7 separate regions of the Homo sapiens genome follow, and regions 2, 3, 4, 5, 6 and 7 are each linked to region 1. Evidence: promoter capture Hi-C in 16 types of primary human blood cells and fetal thymus (Javierre and others, 2016). All regions are on one chromosome and are shown on one strand. The core of a region is centred on a gene start or on the middle of the fragment in contact, and the rest is flanking DNA. Distances in the headings are between cores, read along the strand shown. Region 1 holds the start of PPP2CA (protein phosphatase 2 catalytic subunit alpha). Region 2 overlaps SEC24A (SEC24 homolog A, COPII component). Region 3 overlaps SAR1B (secretion associated Ras related GTPase 1B). Region 4 has its middle 44 kb from the start of SAR1B. Region 5 overlaps JADE2 (jade family PHD finger 2). Region 6 overlaps JADE2 (jade family PHD finger 2). Region 7 has its middle 7.2 kb from the start of JADE2.

Region 1 (2,890 bases), core at 239-2,738:
GCTGCAAAGTTAATTTTGAAAAGGGAAGTTAAAATGTTCACAGCAGAGATCAGCATTTTGTGTACTTTAGAAAACTGAGTTACAAGAATTTAAAAATACAACACAAAGCTAATAGCTAAATTAACTACCTGTTTCCCCAACCCCCAGGGGAAAACAAAAGGGAATTAGCTAATATAAAGTTTAGTGTTACTAAGTGGACTACAACATTCTATTTTCAGTGTATGTGAGACATTATTTAAACACTAAGCACAATGTCTGGAATACAATCTCAGTCGACAGTTATTATCACTACTACTACTTGCAGCCACAAAATACTATCAAGTAATTTTTGCAACAAAGATACAAAATTTACCGCTCTTCCATTTTATGTTGTTCATTTTAAAAATAAACGGCAAAATGCCAAGTGTGTTAAGCTTAGAGAAGGCTTTGAGTCAGCATATAAATCATATTCAACCGACACTTGATTTCCAATCCAAAAGCTCCTTATGTAGTATGACTCACCAAATTCCCGATTTCTTCCAACTATGAAAAATAAGTTACACTCCTCCCTTATAGCTACCACCATGACCTTCGTAAAAATTAGGTTAAGAGAATAATTTAAAAATTCTTAAAGACACCCCTTACCTTGATTTCTGGAGAAGATCGCTTGGTGAGTTTAATACAAACCACCAAGGGGTACTAAAGCTGTGTGACCTTTAGGTATGTTCTGGGATACGGCCTAACAAGACTGCCTTTGGGGGATCCTCTGGGCAGCTCTGGACCTAACTAGGCCTGGGTACCAGCGGCAAGACTCTTACTCAGCCCACCGGAGAGGCCCAGGCTCCATTCCCAAGCCGCAGAATCCAAGCCAGCTCACCCTCAAAACCGTCCCTGACGATGACCCACAGGGTCTCCGCTCCCCCTGCCACCTCGTCTGGCGCCAAGGCCGGCTGACTCAAAAGCCCAGGAGTCGAGTGAACGGCGCCATTTTAGGCGGCGGCGGCAACCAATCCCTGCGCGGGAGGCAGGGGGCGCCGGGTCGTTAGGAAGCCGCCGCCGGCCAGGATGGGCGCCGGTCTCGGAGACTCGGGGGGCCCGGACCGGCGGCCTCCGCCATGTTGCACCCTCCTCACGGCCGCCTTTTCCTCGGCGGGCTCGGCCCCGCGGCGGCTGTCCGCAGCCGTACTACAGCTCACCTTCTCGCAGAGGCTCTTGACCTGGGACTCGGACAGCTGCTTGCACTCGTTCAGCTGCTCGATCCACTGGTCCAGCTCCTTGGTGAACACCTTCTCGTCCATGATGCCACCCGCCCCAGCCGGCTGCCGCTCCGCGCTGCTCCCGCGCCGCCGCCCGCACACGGGCCTACACGCACACGCCGCCGCCGGTTCCTCGTGTACTTCTGGCGGCTGTTGAGGCTGGCGCTGGCCCGCTGGCTCTCACCGCAGTACTCGGCCGTCGGCCGCTGCGCCTCCTCCTCCGCTCGCTGAGGCTCCAGAGCTCGGCTCTCTGTAATGGCGGCCGCCGGGCGTGGTGACGTCACGCCCGGCGTCAGGAGGCGGCGGGGAGCGGAGGGGAAAAGGGCCGGGGAGCAAGCTGCGCAACTGCAGAGCCCTCCCCGGGCGGCCGCACGACCGGAGTTGGGGCGCAAACTGGGGGTCAAAGCGCAGGCGCGACGTAGCCGGCTGGTAACTGAAGCGCCTTGACTTTTTGGGCGTGGCTCCCGGAGGGCGGGGTGGTGGGGGAAGGGAAGGATGGAGCTGGAGCATGCGCAGTGCGCACAGCGGCGAACCGGACTAATCCCTGAGCACTATTCCAGGAGAGGCGAGGGCTTGGGCCGCGCGCAGGCGCAGACCGGATGGAAGCCGGGGCCACTGGCAGCCTGTAACTGGTTCCCCTGGGAAGGCCGCTCTGGTGATGAACTCAGCTCCTCACCTGGGGCCTGGCAGTCCGATCACGGAAACGAGAATTGCGACCCCGTGGCTCATCTGGGGTGCTGCGGCTCTGTAATCGTGTGGGTTTCCGTCATCTTTGGGGGCAGGAACGGGCAGCGAGTGGCCGCTTGGATTAACCACCCCCACCTCTGGGCGCGGCTGGCACCTTGTAATTAGGTCACTCGTAGGTGGAGGAGCGTGTACCTACCGGGGGAGTGCTGCGCAGTGCACCTGACTTCCGCGGCACACACCCGTCCCCGGACCTAGGTGTCTCGTCGGGCGCGATGGCGGGGGCGAGGCTTGGGCTTTTCTTTGGGCCTCGGACCGCGGCTCGCTTCCACGCGCCCCGCTCCTCGCCGGTGGTTGCTTTCCTCCAAGTTTAATTCTCTCTGGGAATGAGAGACCCTCAACCCCTGCGCGCCCTGGCCTACTTTCAAGAGGGGAAGCCCAGAGAAGATGGATGCACCTGTCCTGACCGCGTCTCGGTGGCGTGAGAAGCAGCTGTGATACGTGCTTAAAAGAGAGAGCTCGTATACCCTAGGATTGGACCTCTGTCTGGTTATGAATCGCTTTGGAGTTTGCGAAACGTTTTCACATTCCATTGTCCCTGCTTTTACATAAATATCTGGTTCCATAGAGCGCCAGCTATATGCCAGATCCGGAGGGGTCATCCAGACGGACCAGGGACCATGCCCTGGAGCTTGTATTCTCCCAACAGTACTGGCTGAAGATGGTTTGGGATAGGCAGAAGAGAGATCATAATGCCCCCAGGATTTGAAAGATATAGAAGCTTTCCAAAGAACATTTAACCATAAAGGGCAAGGCAAGAGCTGAACCTGATCGCCTGTCTTCCAGGAACCCCACCCTCAGTATCAGGCAACCCTTCCACACCCAAGTGCTCAGCGATGCTTGGGAGGAGACTGCTCACTCTGCGGCTCTGAGGGCATCATCCCCACCAACAGGCTGAAGAAGGCACTGGA
Region 2 (2,890 bases), core at 127-2,626, 450 kb after region 1:
TTTTCCTAAAAACTTACCATAAGCTTAAATGTATATGATCAATAATTTCTGATAAATTAAATTTGGTACCTTTAAATTGTATTTAGAATCTTCAGCAAAACTGAACTTTTAAATAATAGACTTTGCAATTTGGGCCATCACCTAAGTTTAATTTAATTCCAGTGTCAACTAGACTTACAAAACAAAAAATAAGTCATTTGATAGTTTAGACTGTTTTACACACAAGCCAAAAAGAGACTATATTTTAGTTATAGGATAACCATCCACTCTATTTCTGCATAGGACTTAGATTTAAATATTTAAATGGGATAAAATTTTGAGACTCTATTGAAATATTTCATCTGTAATCTGATCCAGTATTAAAATGTATACCTTTTAAATCTTTGTTGTTGTTTTCTTCAAAAATAATCATAGCAGCAACTGATACATACTTTTTACTTTGATATAGGTTATTTCGATGCACGCTGACTAGCATTCCTCAGACGCAGGCCTTATTGAATAAAGCCAAACTTCCTTTGGGGCTGCTGCTTCATCCTTTCAAAGACTTAGTGGTATGTTTCTTTTCTTTTCTTTTTTTTTTTTTGAGACGGAGTCTCCCTCTGTCGCCCAGGCTGGAGTGCAGTGACGCAGTCTCAGCTTATTGCAACCTCTGCCCTCCATGTTCAAGTGATTTTCCTGCCTCAGCCTCCCTAGTAGCTGGGATTACAGGTGCCTGCCACCGTGCCTGGCTAATTTTTGTATTTTTAGTAGAGAGGGGGTTTCACCATCTTGGCCAGGCTGGTCTTGAACTCCTGACCTCGTGATCCACCTGCCTTGGCCTCCCAAAGTGCTGGAATTACAGGCGTGAGCCTCTGCGCCCGGCTCTTTTTTTTTTTTTTTTTTTTTTTCTGAGACTGGGTCTCACTGTCGCCCAGGCTGGAGTGTAGTGGCGAGATCTCGGCTCACCGCAATCTCCGCCTCCCAGGTTCGGGCAATTCTCTTGCCTCAGCTTCCTAAGTAGCTGGCATTATAGGCATCTGCCACCACACCCAGCTAATTTTTTTATTTTTAGTAGAGATGGTGTTTCACCATGTTGGCCAGACTGGTCTCGAACTGACCTCAAGTGATCTGCCCACCTCCCAAAGTGCTGGGATTTATAGGCCTGAGCCACTACACCCGGCCTCTTTAGTGAAGGTAAATGTCTTTTGTGCAAAATTATCTTGGTGATGAAAATTTTCTGCAATGATGCAAGAATTACATATAGAATTTGTTTGATCTGTCTTTAGGAAGTCGATGATTGACAGATTACTTACAATTCAACCAAAAATTTTATTACTAAACACTTTCAAATACTAGGTAAAGTAAGTATATTGCTGGAAAATTCAAAAAGTACTGAATAGAATAGAGGTACTGAGAGAAACTAAATAAATGAATCATACTATTTTAATAGGTTGTGAATTATTTACCCATTAAAGTACTTTACCCTAGTCTCCCCGTTCTGCCATCCTTGCAGTAAAATTTGTTATTTTAAAAAGTTGTTTTAAGCCAGACATGGTGGCTCATGGCCTGTAATCCCAGCACTTTTGGAGGCCAAGGTGGGAGAATTGCTTGGGTCTATGAGTTCAAGACCAGCTTAGTCCTGGCTACTCGGGAGGCTAAGGTGGGAGGATCACTTGAGCCCAGGAGGTTGAGGCTGCAGTGAGACATGATTGTACTACTGCACTCCAGCCTGGGTGGCAGAGTGAGACCCTGTATCCAAAAAGAAAAGTTATTTCAGAAGAAAAAAGAAACTGATCTACCTTTGTCCTAAAGCTCTGTGGCCACATACTCTTGAGGATTGCTGACTTTCCCAAAACACACTACTTTTGGTGATAGGATTTTTTTGGTGGTGATATAATTTTATTGCCTGTATTGATTTTTTTTTTTTTTTTTAAGAAGCAGAGTCTTAACTGCATTGCCCAGGATTGGGTATGAGATCCTTATCTTAAAAAAAAAAAATAAAGGCCAGGTGCAGTGGCTCACACCTGTAATCCTAGCACTTTGGGAGGCTGAGGCGGGCAGATCACCTGAGGTCAGGAATTCAAGACCAGCCTGGCCAACGTGGTGAAACTCGTCTCTACCAGAAATAGAAAATTTAGCCAAGCATGGTGATGCACACCTATAATCCCAGCTACTGGGGAGGCTGAGGCAAGGGAATCGCTTGAACCCGGGAGGTGGAGGTTGCAGTGAGCCAAGATCCCACACTGTACTCCAGTCTGGGCAATAGAGTGAGACTGTCTCAAAAAAAAAAAAAAAGATAAATAAAACCTTTCTTTAAAGATGAGATGCTATGTCACTTTGTTGTCCAAGGCACTGGCTCTCAGTTAAGTTGATCAGTGTTCACCTGTCTCAGGGTTTCTGGTAAATCAAAACAAATCTCCCCAAATCTGATAGTCTTACAAAGACCCTTCCCACGTATTTACTGTTATTTATTTATTTATTTATTAGAGACCGGGTCTCTCGTTGTCACCCAGGTTAGAGTGCAGTTCCATGATCATAGCTCACTGCAGCCTTGAACTCTTGGGCTCAAGCAGTCCTCCTGCCTCAGCCTCCAGACAGAGTAAGTGGTACTGTAGGCATTGGCCACTATACCCAGCTAAGACTTTAGAACTTTTAATATGTAGGATAAACTTTAACTAGGAGTGTAATTCCAAAGTTTAACTGGTTATTTAAATTAACCTCACCTTACTTTATTATAGTTGAGAACTAAGTAAGCTTCTTAATGTAACATCAACAAACTTTGTAATAGTTTCATTGGTCATATATTTTAGAATGTTGATTTTTTTTTCTTTGCCATTTATGCCAAAAGTACATTGTAAATTTACCATCTTGGTTTTATTTTTTTAACTTATTATTTATTTATTTAAAAACT
Region 3 (2,890 bases), core at 184-2,683, 380 kb after region 1:
ATGATGAGCTTTTAAATATGGTTTATAGTTTCATGTTGTTAAAAAGTGCTTCAAATGTACTGCTGGAAAGTTGCTCTTTACAAATGGCGCTGGGGTGATGTCAGATTATAAACTGTAAAAACCAAGTACTTTTATGGAATTAGAAAGCTAACATTGTGATACTCAAACTTACTTGAATCAGTTTTCAATTCTCATTCAAATTAAGTTGATTTAATATTAATAATCTAAAAAACATCTGTTTTATAACCAGCAAAAGTCTATTGAATTCAAGTTATGCATGTTGAGCAATCAAATCTCTGAGTAAGCCTGAACGTTGAGACCTGGAACCAATGTGAGTTTGTGTTAATCAATGTACTGTGCCATCCAGCGGAAGCCTTCTCCGTAACCTTGTCTTTTGAGCACACTACACATGAAAACTTCTAAGGGTCGGGCATTCAGTTCTTTCAGAGATATACTCCCCTAGAATAGAAGAGAGACATTTCGTTGGAATTTTATAAAATTAATAAAGCCCCACATCCCAGCAGAATTATAGGTTCTATTTTAGAACAAAGAATGGCTGTGATAAATCCATGACTGTGATAAAGTCGTGGCTGCTTGGCATCCAAGCCCCATGAACACACAAGAAGCCTCCTTCTCTCACTCTACCTTAGGGCAGGATGGCCACTCAGTGGGAAAGAGGTTAGCTTGCAAGATACCCAAGAATAAAAATAATCTGACTTAGAAAAAAATCCAAACTGGCTTCACTAATATTAAAGACAAACATTCCCTGAGAAGGTTTATGACCAAACAAAGCATTTCCTAAAATTAATATCAAGCTAATTTATAAAAAAGAAGACAGAAAACAGACCAAAGTCTACTTTGTCTGACTTAAGAGCCTCCTGCGGACCGGGCGTGGTGGCTCATGCCTGTAATCTCAGCACTCTGGGAGGCCAAGGCGGGCGGATCACCTGAGGTCAGGAGTTCGAGACCAGACTGACCAACATGGAGAAACCCCGTCTCTACCAAAAATACAAAATTAGCTGGGCGTGCTGGCACACGCCTGTAATCCCAGCTACCAGGGAGGCTGAGGCAGGAGAATCGCTTGAACCTGGGAGGCAGAGGTTGCAATGAGCCGAGATTGCACCATTGTACTCCAGCCTGGGCAACAAGAGCAAAACTCCATCTCAAAAAAAAAAAAAAAGAGCCTCCTGCTATATGCTGCAGTATTTCTCCACCCTGAAATAGTATATGTAAACTAAAAAAATTTTGTAAATCTCTGGGGTTCTTCCACTGTTTATCTGGATTTTTTCAATGCTGATGTTTCCCCCAAAATAAATCCTAGGAAAAGTGAATACCAAAACAATCCGTCTTAAAGCTTATTATAAAGTATATGTTCAGAAAACCGTAAAATATTCCAAGTTTATGTCTTATTTATCTCTGGTAAACTCAGGGCCTAAACACACTACTGGTATACTTAAACACTCAAATATATCGTTTGGTGGCTAATTCTGAAAATGTATGATAAATAACTTTGAAAGCTTTAATTTAGTTTCCTATAAGCACAAGCCTTAGGCATAACTCATCCTTGACATTTTTGTTGTCACCAAGAAAATGTTTCATTCCATGGTAGAAAGAAATGAGGACATTAAAAAGACCCACAGGTATAAATGACAGTTTTCTTTAAGAAAATGATAATGGGCTTGTATAGTTGGACAATAGTAATTTAAGAAGACATTTGTACTGTAGAATTAAACACACCCATCATAATTTTTTTTTTTTTTTTACCTTTCCTGTTGTCTGACCATATAAACCAAACATCTCTCGCAACCTCTCTTCACTGATGGCTTCAGGTCTGTCGATCTTATTCCCAAGAATCAGTATAGGCACATTAGCAATGGTTTCATCTGTCATTAGTGACTGAAAAAAACAAAACAATACAAAACAAGAGTTGATATGAAACCATCCAAAGAGCTTATTTTGATATGATAAAACAATAAAGGACTCATTTTCTACCATATCATGTCATACCAACGTTCTTTGTCAAACTTTCCCCACATTTTAAAGTGACCTCAATGAAACCATAAGCTAAATTCTTCTGTCTTCCTAAGGCTCTTCCTGTAAATGTTTACTCTGCTCATCCTTTAAAGGAGTGACATAGAACGTATAGAGCCAGCACCTTAGAAGTGAACAGATGTGGTTTCACTTCTGGCTCTACTGCTTTTGAGATGTGACTTTGGGCAAGTTAGCCTGACTGAAGCTCTAGAGAGAATTAGGAACAGTAGCATCCACCCTATGAAATTGAGAATTAAATCAAGTAATACGCACAGTCTCTGGAACAAAGTAGGAACTCAGGCATTCTCTGTCCTTGTTTTGTAACCATAGAACCTACCTGGACTTTTCCACACGTACAAGTATTTGTTTGCCTGCTCTGGGCAGAGCCATGGTATGATCAACCTTCAATCAAATCATGGACCTGCTTACTCTGTGGCCCCAGATCTGGTGCTGACCTTGCCTGCTGCTGTTGGGCCCCTTTACAAAATATCTGACCTGGGATACTGGAGGGGAGGTAGCTACATATGCCTCTGCTCACTCCTGGGAGTAGTGTCAAAGATGGCATGTCCTATCATTTCCAGGCTGTGGCTTAAGATATAGCATCTTAGCATGACCAGGGACTCAAGATCAACCCACTCCAGGAATATAACAGACATGAAATATACTAAAAGGGTACATTCTGTACAGGGTGAGCTTCTTAAGTCTTCATAAAAGATGTCTGTGTTAGTACTTCCTCAATAGCTACAATTACTCAGTTACTCCCTCTGCATTCTAAGTAATCACTACTTAAAGCAATCACTGAGCTCAACAAATTGCCAAGAGTTTCATCAGAGACTGCAGAAAAGCTGCACTCTGATAC
Region 4 (2,890 bases), core at 282-2,781, 360 kb after region 1:
TGGCGATGAAAGCTTCAGGACTCACATAGGCACCTCTGGCCCATGCTGGAAATGCAGGTAGCTCCAAGTGGCCTCGCAACTACCCTGTCTCAAAAAAAAAAAAAAAAAAAAAAAAAAAAAAAAAGAAAAGAAAATTAAAATAAAAATAATGAATAAAAAAGAGGAGGGCCGGGCGCGGTGGCTCACACCTGTAATCCCAGCACTTTGGGAGGCCGAGGCAAGCGGATCACAAGGTCAAGAGTTTGAGACCAGCCTGGCCAACATGGTGAAACCCCGTCTCCACTAAAAATACAAAAATCAGCCAGGCATGGTGGCGGGCACCTGTAATCCCAGCTACTCAGGAGGCTGAGGCAGGAGAATCCCTTGAACCCAGGAAGCAGAGGTTGCAGTGAGCCGAGATGGTGCCATCACACTCCAGCCTGGGTGACAGAGCAAGACTCCATCTGAAAAAAAAAGGAGATTGGCCAGGAGTGGTGGCTCATGTCTGTAATACCAGTGCTTTAGGAAGCTGAATTGGGAAGATCGCTTGAGCCCATGAGTTCAGGCCCAGCCTGAGCAACATAGTGAGACCTCATCTCTACTGCAAAAAAAAAAAAAAAAAAAAAAAAAAAAAAAAAAGAGACAGGGTCTCACTCTTTGAGATAGGGTCTCACTCTGCTGCCTAGGCTAGAGCACAGTGGTGCAATCACAGCTCACTGTAGCCTTCAACTCCTGGGCTCAAGTGATCCTCCCACCTCAGCCCTTGGTCTCTCAAAGCTCTGGGATTACAGGCATGAACCACCATACCTGTCTGAAGAAAATTTTTTTAGAGAGATAATAAAATATGGACTTCAAGGCAGCCTTTTGAGTTCAGATGGACTCCCTGCCAAGAGTCAAAGGGAGGGAAGAAAGGATGGGGTTTCAGTCAAGCAGGTGGCTTAAGGGCAAGCTCATCGTAGCAGAGTATTGCTTGGCCCCCAGTACTCCAAGCCAGGCCTGAGCTCAGAAGCATCCGCACCAGCCCATTCTGAGGAAACATGGGTAGGGATACAGGGTCCCCATTTGCTGGCTGGAGAGATTTTCAGTGGGTAGGAGGGAGGCTGTCAGATTTAGCAAATAAAAATATAGGGCATGTAGTTACATTCAAATTTCAGAGAGTAGTTCCTCAGTACATTTTCCAAATATTGCATCCTGTATTTTCCCTGGCATTCCTAGTGGGAAGCCTCAGGTCCCTCTTTCCACTGTGTTCCAGGCAGGGGGCTGAGGCAGGAGCATGGTTTTCCATGTTTTATACACTGTGGCAAATCCTAAACTATCCCAACAACCCCAACATGATGACACCTACAGTGTGAGAACAATGGAAAATGGGCTGCAGCCAGTGACCCAGGACACAGCTGGGCCTGTCTTAACTCAGCCACAGCCTCCCTTATACCTGACATTCCAATCCAATGCTGAACAGAAGCTCCGTAGTGTCCTTGAAGGACCTCTGCTCCCCAGAGCTCACAAGCCCATTTATTTGCTGTCTCAGCTCAACATCTAAAGAGTTCAGATTGGTGGGAGCACTGTTCACAATAGCCAAGAGGTAGGAGCAACCTAAATATCCATTGACAGATGAATGGATAAAGAAAATGTATACACATACAATGGAATATTATTCAGCCTTAAAAAAGAAGGAAATCCTGTCCTGTGCTACAGCATGGATCAACCTGCAGGAAATTATGCTAAGCAAAATAAGCCAGTCAAAAAAAGTCAAATGCTGTATGATTCCACTTATAGGAGGTACTTAGAGTAGTCAAAATCATAGAGCAGAAAGTAGAAAGGTAGTTGCCAGGGGCTGGGGGGAGGAGGAAGAGAATTGATTAGGAGGCACAGAGTCAGGACGGGAGGGTGGTTCCAGGGCTCTGCTGCCCATCAATGGCATGTGGTTGACAATATTGTACTTTACACTTGGAAATTGTTGGGAGGGTGAATTTATTTTTTTATTTTTGAGACAGGGTCTCACTCTGTCACCCAGGCTGGAGTACAGTGGCACGATCTTGGTTTGCTGCAACCTCTGCATGCCCCCAGGCTCAAGTGCTCCTCCCACCTCAGCCTCCCGAATAGCTAGGACCACAGGCACACACTATCATGACCAGCTGTTTTTGTTGTGTTTTGTTTTGTTTTGTTTTCTCTAGTAGAGCCAGGGTCTCGCCAAGTTGCTCAAGCTGGTCTCAAACCTCTGAGCTCGAGGAATCTCAAAGTGCTGGATTACACGTACCTAGCCCGGGAGAGTGAATTTTGTGTTTTTGGGGTTTTTGTTTGTTTGTTTTGCTGCAGTTTAAGAAAAAAATGATACTGTAGAAAAAAAAAAAAACCTGCTACATGTAATACCACCCAACTGCTTTGTTGCAACAAACATAATGTAAAGCAAAAGAAACCATTTTATTTTACTTCTGGGGAATTTTTTTTTTTAAGATAGTTTCACTCTGTCACCCAGGCTAGAGTGCAGTGGCACGATCTTGGCTCACTGTAACCTCCACCTCCTGGGTTCAAGCAATTCTTGTGCCTCAGCCCCTCAAGTAGCTGGCATTATGGCACTCACAACGAGCTAATTTTTGTATTTTTAGTAGAGACAGGGTTTCGCCACATTGGCCAGGCTGGTCTCAAACTCTGGCCTCAAGTGATCCGCCTGCCTCAGCCTCCCAAAGTGCTGGGATTACAGGCGTGAGCCACCGTGCCCGGCCATCAGAAGAAACCATTTTAAAACAGTTTTTTTTTAAAAAGAGTTCATGTTGGGCCTCTGCTTTTCCTAGAGCACCATCCGTGACTCCCCTAAGTCCCCCAACTCAAACTCAAACTCAAAGCTCTTTTGAAATTATAATCACCTCCCTTCCCTAAAAGGCTTTTTGCACACTGCTCTAGGAAATTACGG
Region 5 (2,890 bases), core at 137-2,636, 340 kb after region 1:
TTCTCTGAGTTTCAGTTTCTTTGTCTGTAAAATGGGAATAAGGATCAGACTGACCTTGGGGTCACAGTGCATGTGGGGGACAAAGCTTAGCACAGTGCCCTCCATTGTTGGCCGTGATTGTTGTTACTGTCCTGGCCCCTCAGCATTTGGCTCTTAGAAGAAGGGAGGCCAGCCCGTGCGCTCTGAGGGTGGGCTCCACAGAGGACCAAAAGGGCAGGCCCAGTGCTAGGGCCTGGGAACCCAGCATCCTCCCAGATTGATTCGTTCCTCCTCAGCCAGGCAGGGGTTTTGCTGAGAGAAACAGGAGCCGGGGCTGCTGCCGGCATGAAATCCCATTTTATGGTCAACCAGATGTGCTTTCCTAAAATTTCAGCCTTGGGCCTCGGCCCCAGCGGACGCTCGGAAGGCATGGCCACTGCAGCCTCCCAGAGTTATTTACGGCTGACAAAAATCGCAGCACTGTTGATCAGCCCGACAAGTGCCGGCTGGTGTCCCCTAGCAACCGTGCTGACAAGCAGGCTGTGCAGGGACTTGCTGCTTGTGGCTCTGGCTCTGGTCACCAGGAGTTTATTTGGGAGCCTGACCTGGCCTGAGGAGGAGGCCAAGAGGGTGGAGGCGGCTCTGAGACACACACCTGCCCAGAGGATGATATGGGACAACTTCCCAAGGAGGGAAAGGCTCAGAAGGAAGTGGGTCCTGGCCTCAGTGCCTGGATGGTGGTCCCTTTGGCCTCCCACCAAAGCCAACCTTGTCCTGGGCAGCTCCAGCCTGCAGACCTCTGGCTCTTCTGCCCCTGTGCCTTCCATCTCTAGGGCTCCCCCAACCCATTAGTGCCCTTGCCTCACCCAAGCCCAGTCACCACCTCCAGCTGCTCCCAGGTCAGTAGCCCAGAAATTGCCACATCCTGCTCCGTGCCTGCAGTCTACTGCTCTCCCTGCTCACTTGTCTCCCAGGCCCTCCACCCTTCTTTGTCCTGCTTTCTTCACTCACTCCCTGTATGGCACTGGCCTGCTATGCCCCAGCCCTTGTCCCTCACTGAGGCCAGAACCCTGGCAGAGCCTCACCCAGTAAGAGCCACTCCCTCCACCAGGAGAAATCCCATAGCGCTGAGCAGGGCAGTCCCTGCCGCACACCCCACCTCATACCTGCTGCCCACATGCTGAGCCCTGCCTCCCTCAGGACAGCGTCCCCTCTGTCCTCATACCAGGGCCTCTAACTTCTGCCAGCCGAGCCTCTCGGTCCATTCTCTTCCCTTCCCTCCTGTCTTCCTTCCCCCACAGGGGCTCTTTTCCAGCCCACACCTGCAGCTGACGAGTCTGTCTTTTCTTCATCCCCTCTGCGGGTCCTTTTCCACCAATATTTGAATCTGTTCAACCCTCTCTCATCTTCAAAAGCGAATCCTCCCTCCCTATTTCCCTCTAGTCGTGGGTTCCTCCGCTCCCACCCCCATCTCTCCTTTCCTGTCATCCCTCATGGTATTTGCATCCTTGCTGCCCACTCTGGCCGGGTTTCCGCCACATCCCAGAGCCTGCCACCTGGGCTGCCTGCAGCCTCCCTGCCCACCTCTCCATCCCCCGATCCTCTCAGCAGCGGCTGCCACAATCAGACCTGCCCTTAGTCTTGGAGTCCTTTTTCTGTGATGCTCTGACCAGGTCCCCCCTGAGGTCCTGGTTTACCCCCCTCCCTCTCTGGCTGCTCCTTGGCCTCAATGGTCATCCATTGCTCTCCCCTGACTGCTCACTCCCAGGGCTGGAGACCTCAGGCTCCACTGTCTTTCACGGCTGCCCACAGTTTTGCCCCACGTGGGGGTGCTGGCTGCCCCTCCCTTTTGAGCTCCACACCAAGTCCCTTTTAAAGGCCACCGGCATCTCATGCCCAGCATCCCTGTTAGTTTCCTAGGCCTGCCCGTGTGCCACCAGCTGGATGGTGAGATTTATCCTCATGGTTTTGGAGGCTGGAAGCCCAAGGTTGAGGTGTCAGCAGGATTAGTTCCTGCCGGAGGCTCTGCGGGGGAGTCTCTCCGTGCCTCCCAGCTTCTGGTGGTTGCCAGGAATCTTTGCTGTTCCTTGGCCTGCGGACATCTGTCTGGCCTCTGCCTCTGCCAGGTCACATGGCCTTCTCCCTGTAGGCACCTGTGTCAGGACTCCACTCATAGTAGATCAAGGGCCCACCCTAATGTAGTATGACCTCATCTTAACTATTTATATCTACAGAGACTCTATTTCCAAATAAGGTCACATTGCAAGGGTCCCAGTAAAAATGAATTTGGGGGAACACTATTCAATCCCGTACAGAAGCCACTGGAGGTTTTAAGGGGAGAAGGGAAGTGTCTCACTACTCTGTGAAAATCCAGCCCTGGGCCGGGCGCGGTGGCTCACGCCTGTAATCCCAGAACTTTGGGAGGCCAAGGTGGGCGGATCAGGAGGTCAGGAGTTCAAGACTAGCCTGGCCAACATGGTGAAACCCCATCTCTACTAAAAATACAAAAATTAGCCAGGTGTGGTGGCAGGCACCTGTAATCCCAGCTACGTGGGAGGCTGAGGCAGGAGAATGGCTTCAACCCGGGAGGCCGAGGTTGCAGTGAGCCAAGACTGTGCCACTGCGCTCCAGCCTAGGCGACAGACCGAGACCCCGTCTCGAAAGAAAAAAAAGAAAATCCAATCCTGGCTTCCCTTGGCCTGGCTCAGTCAAGCTTCAGCACCTGGCCTCCTCCCTTGCCAGCCCCGACACTCCTCACTGCTCCCTTCAGATTCCTGCCACGAGGCTCTGCTCTGCCTCCCCCAGCCTGGCCTGGCTTGGATTCCTCGTTCCCAGGCTCTGCCCTGCCGTGTGATCAACTCCCACTCCCACTGGCTGCTTGTGTGTCCAAGACGCCTTGCTCAGCACCCCC
Region 6 (2,890 bases), core at 148-2,647, 310 kb after region 1:
CTCATTTGTTGTCCTTTGGGCTCTGTTTGCTCAGTTTGGCTCTGGCGTCCCACCTGGCCAGCCCTTCTTCCCTACAGCAGGAGATCACAGCATCTGGCCTTTTGTGGCTACAACATGCTGCCTGTGGCCTGGCTCAGTGGAACCAAAAACCACATCCTCCATTTCTAACTTTATTGCAGGCAGAGGAGCCCTTTGAGAGAGCCAGGTACCTGCAAGGCTCCCCACCAGCCCCCTCCACTGTGCCCACCCATGGCTGCTACTCCTATTCAGCCAAAACCATAGTGTTGCCCTATTTCTTGCTGCTCCTTTGATTCATAAGGGCGGAGGCCACAGCACTGTCATCCAGCAAGGGCCTTAGACCCTAATAATTATAGCTAATGTTTATTGAGGAATCACTCTGTGCCAGGGACTGTGCTGAGACTTTACAGGCATGATATCACTTATTCCTCACCACAGCCCTTTGAAGATAGTTATTCTTTTGCCCCCATTTTACAGAAGAACAAACTAAGGCTCAGCAAGATTGAGTCATTTGCCTGGGGTGACAAGCTAGTAAGTGGCTGGGTCAGGGCTCTGCTGATGACCTGGATCTGCTTCAGAGCATCTCTCTTCCCATTGCCCTGCTCTGCCTCTGAATACCCACTGGCATCATCCCAGAGTATTTGGACAGTACCTAACCTGGGGCAGGGTGGAGTGTGGGCATGAAAGGCTTATTCCAGCTGTCTTTGAGCAGAGTCCCACAGAGGGCCAAGGACTTGTCTGGGGTCACACATTAAACTAATACTGAGCCCCAGTAACAGCCTTTGATTTCTCCAGCCTTCTGGTTGGCGAGTAGAGGAGGCTTCATGTCCCCATTCATCAGTGGGGAGACTGAGGCCCAGAGCAGGGATACTAGGTCTCACAGAGGTTTCTCCCTCATGAACATTCTAGCCGGGGCTTTGCTTAGAAGCTTCCTATTCTTGGGCATGAGTGGGTGGTGCTCCTGGCCCTCCAGGACCCCTAATGGACTGTTCTCTCTCTGCAGGTCATGCGACATCTACATCCGCATCAAGATGCTCCAAACTGCCCAGCAGCACCAAGTCGGGCTGGCCCCGACAGAACGAAAAGAAGCCCTCCGAGGTGGGTAGTGATGAGCTTCCCAGAGATCTGTGGGGAGTGAGAGTGAGCTGCCCTGCGGAGACTGGGGCAGAGCATTCCTGGCAGAGGGCACGGGCAGTGCAGAGGGAGGCCAGCGTGGCCGAGTGGAATGAAGGGGAGTAGGGGCCAGTTTCCCTCAGCCTTCCAGGTTGTTGTGAAGATGTTCCTATTGAACTGAGCAAGGGGAGAAGCCTTTCAAGGATCTCAGACAGGGTAATGACACAGCCTGATGTTTTAGTGAAAGTTCCCCCTGGCCGCTGTGAGAGAAGGGAGAGTTGCAGTCATCCAGCAGGGAAATAGTGGTGGCTTAGAGCTGGGTGGTAGCAGTGGAATGAGAAGCAGCAGGGTTTGTGACATTTTGGAGGCCGAGCCAAGAGTGATAAGGATTTGCTGGTGCAGGGATAAGGGGTGGAGTCCTCAGAGCCATCCAATTAGTCATAGGTTCCTTATACCCATTTCACAGGCATCTGCATTTGAAGCCTTCCTTACTTTGACCTGGGATGTTTCTTACAGCAGGTAGAGGTTTATGGCCTCTGGAACTGAGAAGCGCACTGGGGGTGGGTAGACTCCTGGACACCTGGACCCTCCTTCTGGGGTCCCTGAAAACTCCCACCCTAGGGCCTTATTGCTCCTTCTTGTAGGTCTTCAGTGCTAATGCCACAAGGTATTCATTGCACTGACCACAGAAGAAGCCTTTGGCACAGATGGGGCTGCAGAAGCTTGGAGAGATGGAGAGATGGAGGGTCTTAATCCTGGCTCTTTTTTTTTTTTTGGAGACTGAGGTTCTCTCTGTTCCCCAGGCTGGAGTGCAGTGGCATGATCTCGGCTCACTTCAACCTCTGCCTCCTGGGTTCAAATGCCTCTCCTGCCTCAGCTTCCCGAGTAGCTGGGATTACAGGTGCACACAGCACACCCAGCTAATTTTTGTATTTTTATTTTTATTTTATTTATTTATTTATTTATTTATTTATTTATTTTGAGATGGAGTCTTGCTTTGTTGCCCAGGCTGGAGTGCAGTGGCGTGATCTCGGCTCACTGCAAGCTCCGCCTCTTGGGTTCACGCCATTCTCCTGCCTCAGCCTCCCGAGTGGCTGGGACTACAGGCGCCCGCCACCACACCCGGCTAATTTTTTGTATTTTTTTAGTAGAGACGGGGTTTCACCGTGTTAGCCAGGATGGTCTCGACCTCCTGACCTTGTGATCCGCCCGCCTTGGCCTCCCAAAGTGCTGGGATTACAGGCATGAGCCACCGCGCCCGGCCTAATTTTTGTATTTTTAGTAGAGATGGGGTTTCACCATGTTGGCCAGGCTGGTCTTGAACTCCTGACCTCAGGTGATCCACCTGCCTCGGCCTCCCAAAGTGTTGGGATTACAGGCGTGAGCCACCGCGCCCGGCCAATCCTGGCTCTTAAGTAGGACACTGTACTACAGCCAAGAAGTAGCCAGGCACTGGGGCTGGACACTCCTTTTTAATCATTAAAACTAGCCCAGAATTTCTCAGTCCTGTTGAAAATAAGGAAAGTGAGGATCGCAAGGTCATTTAGCCAAGACCTTAAATCCTTGGGGCTCACAATGCCAAGGGCAGAAAGGCCCAGAGTTTGGTGGCGGGGCCCTCGTCATGGGTTGGAGAGGATGTCTTTGCTCCATGCTGGCCCCTCCTCTATGCTACCTCACCACAGATGCAGTCCTGGCTCCACTGTCTTTAGCCAGCCCTTGGAGGGGGGCTTCTGCAGAGGCTTGCATCTGAAAAAGGACT
Region 7 (2,890 bases), core at 269-2,768, 290 kb after region 1:
GGATCACTTGAGGCCAGGAGTTCAAGACCAGCCTGGGCAACACAGCAAGATCTCTGTCTCTACAAAAACTTCTAAAAATTAGCCAGGCATGGTGGCATACGCCTGCTGTCCTAGCTACACGGGAGGCTGAGGCATGAGGATCTCTTGAGCCTAGGAGGTGGGTCGAGGTTGCAGTGAGCTGTGATTGCACCATTGCACTCCAGCCTGGGCAGCAGAGTGAGACCCTGTCTCAAAAAATAAATAAATAAATAAAAATAAAAAAGGCCGGGCACAGTGGCTCACGCCTGTAATCCTAGCACTTTGGGAGGCCGAGGCAGGTGGACTGCCTGAGCTCAGGAGTTCGAGACTAGCCTGGGCAACACGGTGAAACCCCGTCTCTACTCAAATACAAAAAATTAGCTGGGCATGGTGGCATGCGTATGTAATCCCAGCTACTCGGGAGGCTGAGACAGGAGAATCGCTTGAAATAAAATAAAATAAATAAAAAATAAATTTAAAAGAATGCAGACTTTTAGCTCTCCCAGACTTAATGAATCAGACTTTGCATCTGAACAAGATCCCAGGTAATTTGTGTGCATAGTGTAGTCGGACAAGCATTGCCCTAAGCAGTGAGTATGTGAATACAAGTCTAGAACCCAAATGAGGACTTCTCACCTGGCACAGAAGTGGGCTGCTGGGGAGTGTGGCTAACTACATCTGCGGCTTCTGCCTACCTTGATGACTCAAATTGTTGAGTCAGGTATTTTCTGTTTCTTTCCAACCCTTGTATACCGCCTTGAACATAGCAAGTGCCAGGTGTGGTGGCACGTGCCTGTAGTCTCTGGAGGCTGAGGCGGGAGGACTGCTTGAGCCCAGGAGTTCTGTGTGGTAGTTCATTATGTGGATTGGGTGTCTGCACTAAGTTTGGCATCAATATGGTGACCTCCTGGGAGCAGGGGACCACGAAGTTGCCTAAGGAGGGGTGAACTGACCCAGGTCGGAACATAGCAGGCAATAAATATCCTGGGAATGAATGTTGAACCAATCTTATACTATTCTCTCAGTTTAGGGTTTTTAGGGTATGCTGTACTTCTGCATCTGGACATGTACTGAAAGTTATTTGAAAGGATTTTTAGTCCGGGCGCAGTGGCACACGCCTGTAATCCCAGCACTTTGGGAGGCCGAGGCGGGCGGATCACTTGAGGTCAGGCGTTCACGACCAGCCTGGCCAACATGGTGAAACCCCGTCTCTACTAAAAATACAAAAAATTAGCCTGGCGTGGTTGCGGGTGCCTGTAATCCCAGCTACTCGGGCGGCTGAGGCAGGAGAATCACTTGAACCCAAGAGGCGTAGGTTGCAGCGAGCCAAGATCGTGCCACTGCACTCCAGCCTGGGCAACAAGGGCGAAGCTCCATCTCAAAAAGAAAAAAAAAATTAGCTGGGTGTGGTGGTGCACAGCTGTAATCCCAGCTAGTCGGGAGACTGAGGCAAGGGAATCACTTGAACCCAGGAGGGGGAGGTTGCAGTGAGCCGAGATGGCGCCACTGCACTCCAGCCTAGGCAACAGAGTGAAACTGTGTCTTAAAAAAAAAAAAAAATATATATATATATATATATATATGTATATATATATATATATATGTATATATATAAAAATATATATATATACACACACACATATATATGTGTGTGTATATATATATATATATATATATATTTTTTTTTTAGCCAGGTGGAGTGGCTCACTCCTGTAATTCCAACATTCTGGGAGGCCAAGGCGGGAGGGTTGCTTGAGCCCAAGAGATCGAGACCAGCCTGGACAACATAGCAAGACCCTGTCTCTACAAAAACTAAAAAAAGAATTTTTGTTCCGAACCAGGACCCCTGGAAAAATAGCTATTGTCTAATGAGCAATGACTGAGCGCCAGGCCAGTGCATGGAACCATGTGGACATGTTCTCAGTGTTTCACAAAGTGTGGTTCAATGCCATGTACATTATGAATGACCAAGTACTTGTTAAAAGCTGCAGGTTTTGGCTGGGCGCAGTGGCTTATGCCTGTAATCCCAGCACTTTGGGAGGCCAAGGTGGGTGGATCACCTTAGGTCAAGAGTTCAAGACCAGCCTGGCCAACATGGTGAAACCCCATCTCTGCTAAAAATACAAAAATTAGCCAGCCATGGTGGCAGCCTCCTGTAATCTCAAAAAAATAAAACACTGCAGATATTTTTTTTAATTGAAAAAAAAAAAAAAGTTGCGGGCCCTGCCCCAGACCTGCCTACTGAGAACCTCTGGGGATAAGGCTCAGATATCTGCAATTTTTGGCCGGGCACGGTGGTTCACGCCTGTAATCCCAGCACTTTGGGAAGCCAAGACGGGCGGATAATTTGAGGTCAGGAGTTCGAGACCTGGCCAACATGGTGAAACCCCATCTCTACTAAAAATACAAAAAGTACTTGGGTATGATGGTGGCACCTATAATCCCAGCTATTTAGGAGGCTGAGGCGGGAGAATCACTTGAACCCTGGAGGCAGAGGTTGCAGTGAGCCAAGATGGTGCCACTGCACTCCAGCGTGGGCGACAAGAGTGAGACTCCATCTCAAAAAAAAGGCTGGGGCCAGGTGCAGTGGCTTACGCCTGTAATCCCAGCACTTTGGGAGGCCGAGACGGGTGGATCACCTGAGGTCGGGAGTTCGAGACCAGCCTGGCCAACATGGAGAAACCCTGTCTCTACTAAAAATACAAAAATTAGCTGGGCATGGTGATGTGTACCTGTAATACCAGCAACTTGGGAGGCTGAGGCAGGAGAATCGCTTGAACCTGGGAGGCGGAGGTTGCAGTGAGCCCAGATCGTGCCACTGCGTTCCAGCCTGGGCGACAGAGCAAGAGTCTGTCTCAAAAAAAAAAAAAAA

What was found. Contacts are between HindIII fragments. The CHiCAGO score rates a contact against its expected background, and 5 or more counts as called.
Region 2: a contact is called between a fragment that was not itself captured here and the fragment with the promoter of PPP2CA in region 1, in 2 of 17 cell types (activated CD4 T cells and endothelial precursors). The highest score is 6.0, in activated CD4 T cells.
Region 3: a fragment that was not itself captured here is called in contact with the fragment with the promoter of PPP2CA in region 1 in 7 of 17 cell types (total CD8 T cells, naive CD4 T cells, M1 macrophages and 4 more); the score reaches 10.3 in total CD8 T cells.
Region 4: a contact is called between a fragment that was not itself captured here and the fragment with the promoter of PPP2CA in region 1, in 6 of 17 cell types (fetal thymus, naive CD8 T cells, naive CD4 T cells and 3 more). The highest score is 10.1, in fetal thymus.
Region 5: a contact is called between a fragment that was not itself captured here and the fragment with the promoter of PPP2CA in region 1, in 2 of 17 cell types (neutrophils and activated CD4 T cells). The highest score is 5.3, in neutrophils.
Region 6: a fragment that was not itself captured here is called in contact with the fragment with the promoter of PPP2CA in region 1 in 1 of 17 cell types (neutrophils); the score reaches 8.1 in neutrophils.
Region 7: a fragment that was not itself captured here is called in contact with the fragment with the promoter of PPP2CA in region 1 in 1 of 17 cell types (neutrophils); the score reaches 8.7 in neutrophils.

Annotation. Positions count from the first base shown.
Region 1 is chr5:134,224,585-134,227,474 of GRCh38, forward strand. PPP2CA (protein phosphatase 2 catalytic subunit alpha) reads right to left here and starts at 1,489. Exons shown (of 7, transcript NM_002715.4): 1 at 1,176-1,489. The coding sequence starts at 1,277. It overlaps MIR3661 (microRNA 3661), which reads left to right and starts at 1,173; the gene lies at 1,173-1,268. PPP2CA-DT (PPP2CA divergent transcript) reads left to right here and starts at 1,826. Exons shown (of 1, transcript NR_186539.1): 1 at 1,826-2,890. RefSeq lists enhancers at 779-888, 1,228-1,747, 1,748-2,269, 2,269-2,428, 2,270-2,789. The HindIII fragment of the contact is 2,287 bases long and covers 412-2,698 here.
Region 2 is chr5:134,675,575-134,678,464 of GRCh38, forward strand. It overlaps SEC24A (SEC24 homolog A, COPII component), which reads left to right. Exons shown (of 23, transcript NM_021982.3): 7 at 449-551. Among named protein-coding and RNA genes, the nearest start is that of SEC24A, 28 kb to the left of the region's middle. The HindIII fragment of the contact is 2,710 bases long and covers 22-2,731 here.
Region 3 is chr5:134,606,608-134,609,497 of GRCh38, forward strand. It overlaps SAR1B (secretion associated Ras related GTPase 1B), which reads right to left. Exons shown (of 7, transcript NM_016103.4): 6 at 1,765-1,896; 7 at 1-459. The coding sequence ends at 343. Among named protein-coding and RNA genes, the nearest start is that of SAR1B, 25 kb to the right of the region's middle. The HindIII fragment of the contact is 163 bases long and covers 1,353-1,515 here.
Region 4 is chr5:134,587,414-134,590,303 of GRCh38, forward strand. No RefSeq gene overlaps it. Among named protein-coding and RNA genes, the nearest start is that of SAR1B, 44 kb to the right of the region's middle. The HindIII fragment of the contact is 3,043 bases long and covers 11-2,890 here.
Region 5 is chr5:134,569,059-134,571,948 of GRCh38, forward strand. The region is part of intron 9 of JADE2 (jade family PHD finger 2); the gene reads left to right. Among named protein-coding and RNA genes, the nearest start is that of JADE2, 45 kb to the left of the region's middle. The HindIII fragment of the contact is 2,607 bases long and covers 84-2,690 here.
Region 6 is chr5:134,536,968-134,539,857 of GRCh38, forward strand. It overlaps JADE2 (jade family PHD finger 2), which reads left to right. Exons shown (of 12, transcript NM_001388185.1): 3 at 1,022-1,116. Among named protein-coding and RNA genes, the nearest start is that of JADE2, 13 kb to the left of the region's middle. RefSeq lists enhancers at 596-1,149, 1,843-2,774, 2,775-2,890. The HindIII fragment of the contact is 907 bases long and covers 945-1,851 here.
Region 7 is chr5:134,517,020-134,519,909 of GRCh38, forward strand. It overlaps the pseudogene RN7SL541P. Among named protein-coding and RNA genes, the nearest start is that of JADE2, 7.2 kb to the right of the region's middle. The HindIII fragment of the contact is 3,864 bases long and covers 1-2,890 here.